2 separate regions of the Homo sapiens genome follow, and region 1 is linked to region 2. Evidence: promoter capture Hi-C in human tissues and cell types (Jung and others, 2019). All regions are on one chromosome and are shown on one strand. Each heading gives the region's core, a stretch centred on a gene start or on the middle of the fragment in contact. The rest is flanking DNA. Distances are from core to core; before and after follow the strand shown.

Region 1 (3,456 bases), core at 575-3,074, 520 kb after region 2:
AGCCTCCTGAGTAGCCAGGACTACAGGCACGCACCACCACACCTGGCTAATTTTTTTTTTTTTTTTTTTTTGAGACAGAGTCTGTCGCCCAGGCTGGAGTGCAGTGTTGCGATCTCGGCTCACTGCAAGCTCCGCCTCCTGGGTTCACACCATTCTCCTGCCTCAGCCTCCCAAGTAGCTGGGACTACAGGCTCCCGCCACCATGCCCCGCTAATTTTTTGTATTTTTAGCAGAGACGGGGTTTCACCGTGTTAGCCAGGATGGTCTCGATCTCCTGGCCTTGTGATCCACCCACCTCAGCCTCCCAAAGTGCTGAGATTACAGGTGTGAGCCACCGCACCCAGCCATGCCTGGCTAATTTTTAAACTTTTTGTAGAGATAGGATCTCGCTATGTTGCCCAGGCTTATCTCGAACTTCTGGGCTCAAGTGATCCACCCACCGTGGCCTCCCAAAGTGCTGGGTTTACAGGCGTGAGCCGCCACACCTGGCCCATATTCTTTATCAAATTGAAAAAAACATTTTACAGAAAAGAGGAAACACACACATGATATATATATATACACACACATATAAATATATGTATATAATTTTTTTTTTGAGACAGGGTCTCACTTTGTCACCCAGGCTGGAGTGCAGTGGAACAATCATGACTAATTGAAGCTTTGACTTTCCAGATTCAAGCAATCCTCCTGCCTCAGCCTCCCTAGTAGCTGGGACTACAGGCATGTGCTACCACACCGGGTAGTTATTTTATTTTATTTTATTTTATTTTTGAGATGGAGTTTCGCTCTTGTCACTCAGGCTAGAGTGCAGTGACACAATCTCGGCTCACTGAAACCTCCACCTCCTGGGTTCAAGCGATTCTCCTGCCTCAGCCTCCTGAGTTGCTGGGATTACAGGTGCCCGCCACTACATCTGGCTAATTTTTGTATTTTTAGTAGGGACGGAGTTTTGCCATGTTGGCCAGGCTGGTCTTGAACTCCTGACCTCAAGTGATCCTCCTGCCTCCGCCTCCCAGAATGCTGGGATTACAGGCGTGAGCCACCACACCCCGCCTGGGTAGTAGTTTTAGTAGAGATAGCAGTCTCACCATGTTACCCAGCTGGTCTTGAACTCCTGGGCTCAAATTATCCTCCTGTCTCAGCCTCCTAAATTGCTGGGATTACAAGTGTGAGCCACCACACATGGCCCAACACTTTTATGTGTTTAAAAAGATGCTTAGTTAACTTCACTTATAATAAAAGAAAAATTAACTAAAATCGGTGAAATGTGCTTTTTGAGCTATGTCTCTCAGATTGGCTTAGACCAAATGGGCTATTTATGAGAGATCTACTTACATGTTTGCAGTAATGGGGAAAGATATTTGTTGCAGCATTGTTTAAAGCAGAGGTCAGCAACCTTTTTCTGTAAAGGATAGACAGTAACTATTTTAGGCTTGAGGACTATACAGTCTCTTGAACTCCTGGGCTCAAGTGATCTACCTGCCTCAGCCTCCCAAAGTGCTGGAATTACAGGCGTTGAGCCACCATACCCAGACTATATGGTCTCATTGTAGCTAATCCACAATGCTGCTGCAGCTCAAACGCAGTCATAAACAAACGTAAACGGATGGGTATGCCTGTGTTCCAATAAAATCTTATTTACAAATGTTGAAACTTAAATTTTGTATACTTTTCATGTGTCACAAAATATTATTTTTTCAAAATCATTTACAGGCTGCTTGTGGTGGCTCATGCCTATAATCCCAGCACTTTGGGATGCTGAGGCAGGAGGATCACTTGAGGCCAGCAGTTTGAGACCAGCCTGGCCAACATGGTGGAACCCCGTCTATACCAAAAATACAAAACTTAACTGGGTTTGGTGGCACATGCCTGTAGTCCCAGCTACTCGGGAGGCTGAGGCATGATAATCACTTGAACCTGGGAAGTGGAGGTTGCAGTGAGCTGAGATTGTGCCACCGTATTCCAGCCTGGGCAACAGAGCCAAATTGTCTCAAACAAATAAACAAACAAACAAAAAAACCCATTTATAAACATAAAAAATTCATAGCTTAAGGTACATAAAAAACAAGAGCTGAGCTGGATCTGGTCAGGAATCCATAGATTGCCAACCCTGGTTTAGATTAACAGAAGACTAGAAACTATCTCAATGCCCCTCACTGGAAGAATGGCTAAATGCACTATGATATATCCTTAGGACCCCTGGATAGTTCCTCCTCATTCCTCAGGTCCAGCCAAAGGAGGTGTCCCCATGACACCATTGCTGAACACTGCCTTGCACCTAAGCCCTTAAAATACCTGCAGTAGAGATGTGTTTATCAGCTGCCTCCACCTGCATTTTGAAAAGAAAACACACCCATACATCCTTGTGTAGCCTGGAACTTGGGAGGATACAGAAGGGAGACAAATGACCACCTTTGGAGAAGGAAACTGGAGACTGAAGGAGCCAAGGGTGGGAGGAAAACGCTTCAAAGTGCACCCTAGTGCACTGTTTGGAATATATTAATACCATAAGCCCATGGTAGCTTTTTCAAAAAACAGTCAATCAGCTGGGCACGGTGGCTCACACCTGTAATCCCAGCACTTTGGGAAGCCGAGGCGGGCAGATCACCTGAGGTCAGGAGTTCAAGACCAGCCTGGCCAACATGGCCAAATCCCGTCTCTACTAAAAATACAAAAATTAGCCAGGTGTGGCGGCACGCTACTCGGGAGGCTGAGGCAGGGGAATTGGCTGAACCTGGGAGGTAAAGGTTGCAGTGAGCCGAGATCGTGCTACTGCACTCCAGCCTAGGCAACAGGGTAAGGCTCTGTCTCAAACAAACAACCAGTCAATTCCCCACTCCCTCAAATAAAGACGTTCCATGACACAAAAGGATTTTTGGTGAAATAAGTTTGGTACATGCAGGGTTAAGTGATGTTCAAGTGTCTTTGCTGCATAGGTTTGGGGTGGGGTGGCCTTTAACATGCTGCTGGGTCTGGTGAACCCATCTGAGGCCTGGTGCTCTCTACGCTTGCTGCTGGGACCATTTTTCCAGTCCATCTGATGTGGTTTGGCTCTGTGTCCCCACCCAAATCTCATGCTGAATTGTAATCCCCAGTGCTGGAGGAGGGGCCTAGTGGGAGGTGATTGAATCACGGGGGTGGTGGTTGTGAACAAAATGCTGATAGTGATATGGACAATGAAGTCCAGGCTAAAGAGGTCTCAGATGGAGATGAGAAACTTATTGGGAACTGGTGTAAACGTCACTCTTGCTATGCTTTAGCAAAGAGACTGGCAGCATTATGCCCCTGTGCTCTAGGGATTTCTTGAACTTTGAACTTGAGAGAGATGATCTGGGGTATCTGGTGGAAGAAATTTCTAAGCAGCAAAGCATTCATGATGTGGCCTCACTGCTTCTAAAAGCCTACACTCACCTGCATAAACAAAGAAATGACTTGAAATTGGAACTTATATTT
Region 2 (3,234 bases), core at 43-2,542:
AGATGAATCAGACAAAGTCCTTTTGCTTGAAGAATTCACAGTATTTTGTGTGTGTGTGGGAAGGAGGGTGGCTGCTTACATGTGTTAAAAGACAATGTGGCCAGGCCTGGTGGCTCATGCCTGTAATCCCAACACTTTGGGAGCCCGAGACTGGAGGATCGCTTGAGCCTGGGAGTTTGAGACTAGTCTGGGAAATATGGCCAGAACCCCATCTTTACAAAAAAATTTTAAAATTAGCTGGGCCTGGTGGCATGTGCCTGTATTCCCAGCTACTTAGGAGGGTGAGGTGGGAGGATCACTTGAGCCCAGGAGGTCGAGGCTGCAATGAGCCGTGATTTTGCCACTGCACTCCAGCCCGGGCGAAAGAATGAGGCACTGTTAAAAAAAATTAATAGAATAATCCAGACCCACGGTAGGGTCAAAATTCCTAACTCAAGGTCCCAGAGAGGCTCAGAGAAGCCTTTTGGAAGAAGGGACTCCTGCCCCAGCTAAGACTGATGGATAAGTAGCAAAGGCTTTCTGGGGACACAGCACAAACAGCCCACCTGAAGCGGTGAATCGGCGTCCTGGGTGCCTGGCACACCTTGTAGCTCAGCTTACTAGCTAGTGGAGTGCGAAGGGGCGTGTACTTGTCGGTTGGAGCTGGTCATGAAAGAGCTCGTGGGACTGCCCGACGGTTCTCAGGTCCCAGTGCATCCTGCGTGGTGGCTCTCTGCTGAACCATAAAGCATTCCTTTTCAATCCCTGCACGCTCACGCCGGGAAAAGACTGCACAAGGGGCCTGCCAAGGCAGACAAGCGATCGCCACCCAGCTGGCTTCCGAGGGTCCCCGCCCTCCACCGGAGGCCTGTTACCACGGCAACCAGTGAGGGCGGAAGTGGCTCAGAAGACCGGTTCTCCCTAATCAGGTGACTCTCCCGCCTCCTGCACGTGACACCGGAGCCCAGAAGCGCGCTCTACCTAATCAAGACCCCACCCCTCTTTCCCTTTACTGACAATTGACAGCGACCTCTTGCAATGGCCCTTCCGCCTCCACCAGGAGACTCTGCCCGTTGGTAGTAAAAGAACCAATTAGACTGGGAAAAAAAGAAGCAACGCCCCAGGTTTCACCCCGGCTTGACAGACGCAATTGAGGCCATCCTTGAGTCCCTCCGCCCCCAAGTCCAGTAATGCCAGCGATGGACAGACCTTCTACCCAATAGCACGCCCCTTTTCTGCCGTTGGGTCCCGCCCCCTTGAGGGCTAAGCCAATGAGCGCTCCGGGTCTCAGCGGGGTGGAGGGGTTGCACTGCGGTAATATGGCTCTTCCTTAGCCAGCGGCGGCAACGGCGGCAGCGGCGGCAGCGGCGGCGGCTACTGTCTGGGCTGAGCAGTAGTGCCTCTCGGGTGGCGGGTTTCTAGGCTGCAGGGGCTTGGTAGGTGGTGGCAAGGGGGCGGCGGCGGATGCCGGAAGAGTGCCCGCCCCGCCGCTTGGCGGCCCCTGGATCGAGATGAGCGCCTCCGCGTCGGTCGGGGGCCCCGTCCCCCAGCCACCCCCGGGCCCGGCCGCTGCTCTGCCTCCCGGTTCTGCCGCGCGGGCCCTGCATGTGGAGCTGCCGTCTCAGCAGGTAAGCCCGCGCGGCTCGCAGCACTCGGGAGGGACCCGGGCAGGCCCGCGTGGAGAGCTTGCTGGCTCCGGGCTGACCCCGCGAGCCGGGACACCCAGAGCAGGGACCCGGAGGGCTCGCGGGACTGAGGAAGACTGTCAGGAGGTTTGTGCGGGGAGGGGTCCAGTGATGGCCGAACCTCCGGGAGATCCCGGAGTCCTAGGAGAATCCCGTTACAGGAGATGGGCTTGTTAAGGGACAAGCAGCCAGCCAGCTCAAGTCCCTGGGGCCCCGGCCCGAGGCCGCCTCCCCCAACGCAGGGAGCCGGGGATTGCCCCGCGCAGACCCTCTCCCTCGTTCCGCCCAGGAAGGGACCCGGGGAACCCCCTGTGTCCCACGGGCCATAGTGAAAGCACTTTTCCTTTCTTTCCCCACCTGGCCATCCCCGCTTACGGAGAAACCAGTTTGTACTCTTCGTGCAAGAGCCCTGGAGGAGACTTTAGGGTGTCTACCATTTGCTTTAATCTCCCCTGATTATTAAGTATTCGGCCTCTTTAGAGAAATGTATTCAAGACTTGGGGGTTTCCTTCCTAATTCTCCGAGTCCCAAGGAACGCATCTTAATAATTAGGAGGACTTTTTCCTTCTTCATTCCCTTCAGTGAGTCTCTGTGGAAGGAGGATTTGATGTATATATTCATGTGTTCCTCCATCCTTTAGGAAGGGCTTTGAGGACTTCTTGGCTCTGCGTTGTAGGAAGATAAGAAGGGGGAAACACTGACTTTGGAGATGTGACAAAACTCTTTGTTTCACTCACATATCTGTAGAGTACTTCCCTCCTTATATCGGTTGCCTTCCTTCTGTCCCCCAAGGGGAGATTTTGCAGGAATCTTAGCATTAAAGAGACCTAAAGAATACCTTTCACCCTCTCCCTTTATTCCTCCTGCCAAGAAGAGGATCTAGAGAAACTGTCATTTACTGAGAACTTACCGTGTTGGATTTGTGCAAAGGGCTCAGTGGCCATTAGTTCACTGAATTTTCACAACTCTGTGAGATAGCTGTTTTTATTACCCCCATTTGGCAGTTGAGGAAACTGAGGCTTGTCCAGAGCCTTCCAGTTAGTAAGTGGTGGGGCTGGGTTGCAGAATCCAGTGTCTGACTCTGCAGCCATGCACGTGCTTGAGACTTGGGCAGCCTTCCTCCACCACCTTTACACAGGACAGAGTGAGTTCTTTCATACACCCCTCCAACTTTCCATCAGCTACCAGTGGGACTTAGGAAGGATTCAGAAAGAGGAAGGGAGAGGTTGTAGGGGAGAGAGTGGTTGAAAAGTGAAATGGATTTGAGTGCAGTAAAGGAGGCGGGGGCTAAAGGGAAGAGAAGAGTTGGAGATAATAACCACTGTGGTTGCCTTTGAATAGGCAGGCAGAAGAGCTTACAGTAGCAACGGCTTTTTGTGTGACTACTACCGAAGAGGATTGAAAAGATACCATGTGCCCTGGTTTTGTGATGCTGTTGGCAGGGAATTTCTGAATAGTGGGAGTTTGAGGGTAGTGGGGGTTTGGATTGTGTTGTGAGATACAGGGAGAGGGTAGAAGTCTGGCTAGGGAGGGAGACACGTCTCTGGAGTGAGCATTAATGTGAGTTTTT

The links. The method cuts DNA at HindIII sites, captures the fragments that hold promoters and counts their contacts. A contact is called where the count stands out against the background at its distance.
Region 1: a contact is called between a fragment that was not itself captured here and the fragment with the promoter of UVRAG in region 2, in 1 of the 25 tissues and cell types used here (dorsolateral prefrontal cortex).

What each region holds. Positions count from the first base shown.
Region 1 is chr11:76,331,270-76,334,725 of GRCh38, forward strand. No RefSeq gene overlaps it. Among named protein-coding and RNA genes, the nearest start is that of THAP12, 48 kb to the right of the region's middle. The HindIII fragment of the contact is 9,513 bases long and covers 1-3,456 here.
Region 2 is chr11:75,813,918-75,817,151 of GRCh38, forward strand. It overlaps UVRAG (UV radiation resistance associated), which reads left to right and starts at 1,293. Exons shown (of 15, transcript NM_003369.4): 1 at 1,293-1,607. The coding sequence starts at 1,491. UVRAG-DT (UVRAG divergent transcript) reads right to left here and starts at 880. Exons shown (of 2, transcript NR_144531.1): 1 at 546-880. RefSeq lists enhancers at 1-603, 527-956, 827-1,121 and a silencer at 1,417-1,616. The HindIII fragment of the contact is 17,046 bases long and covers 1-3,234 here.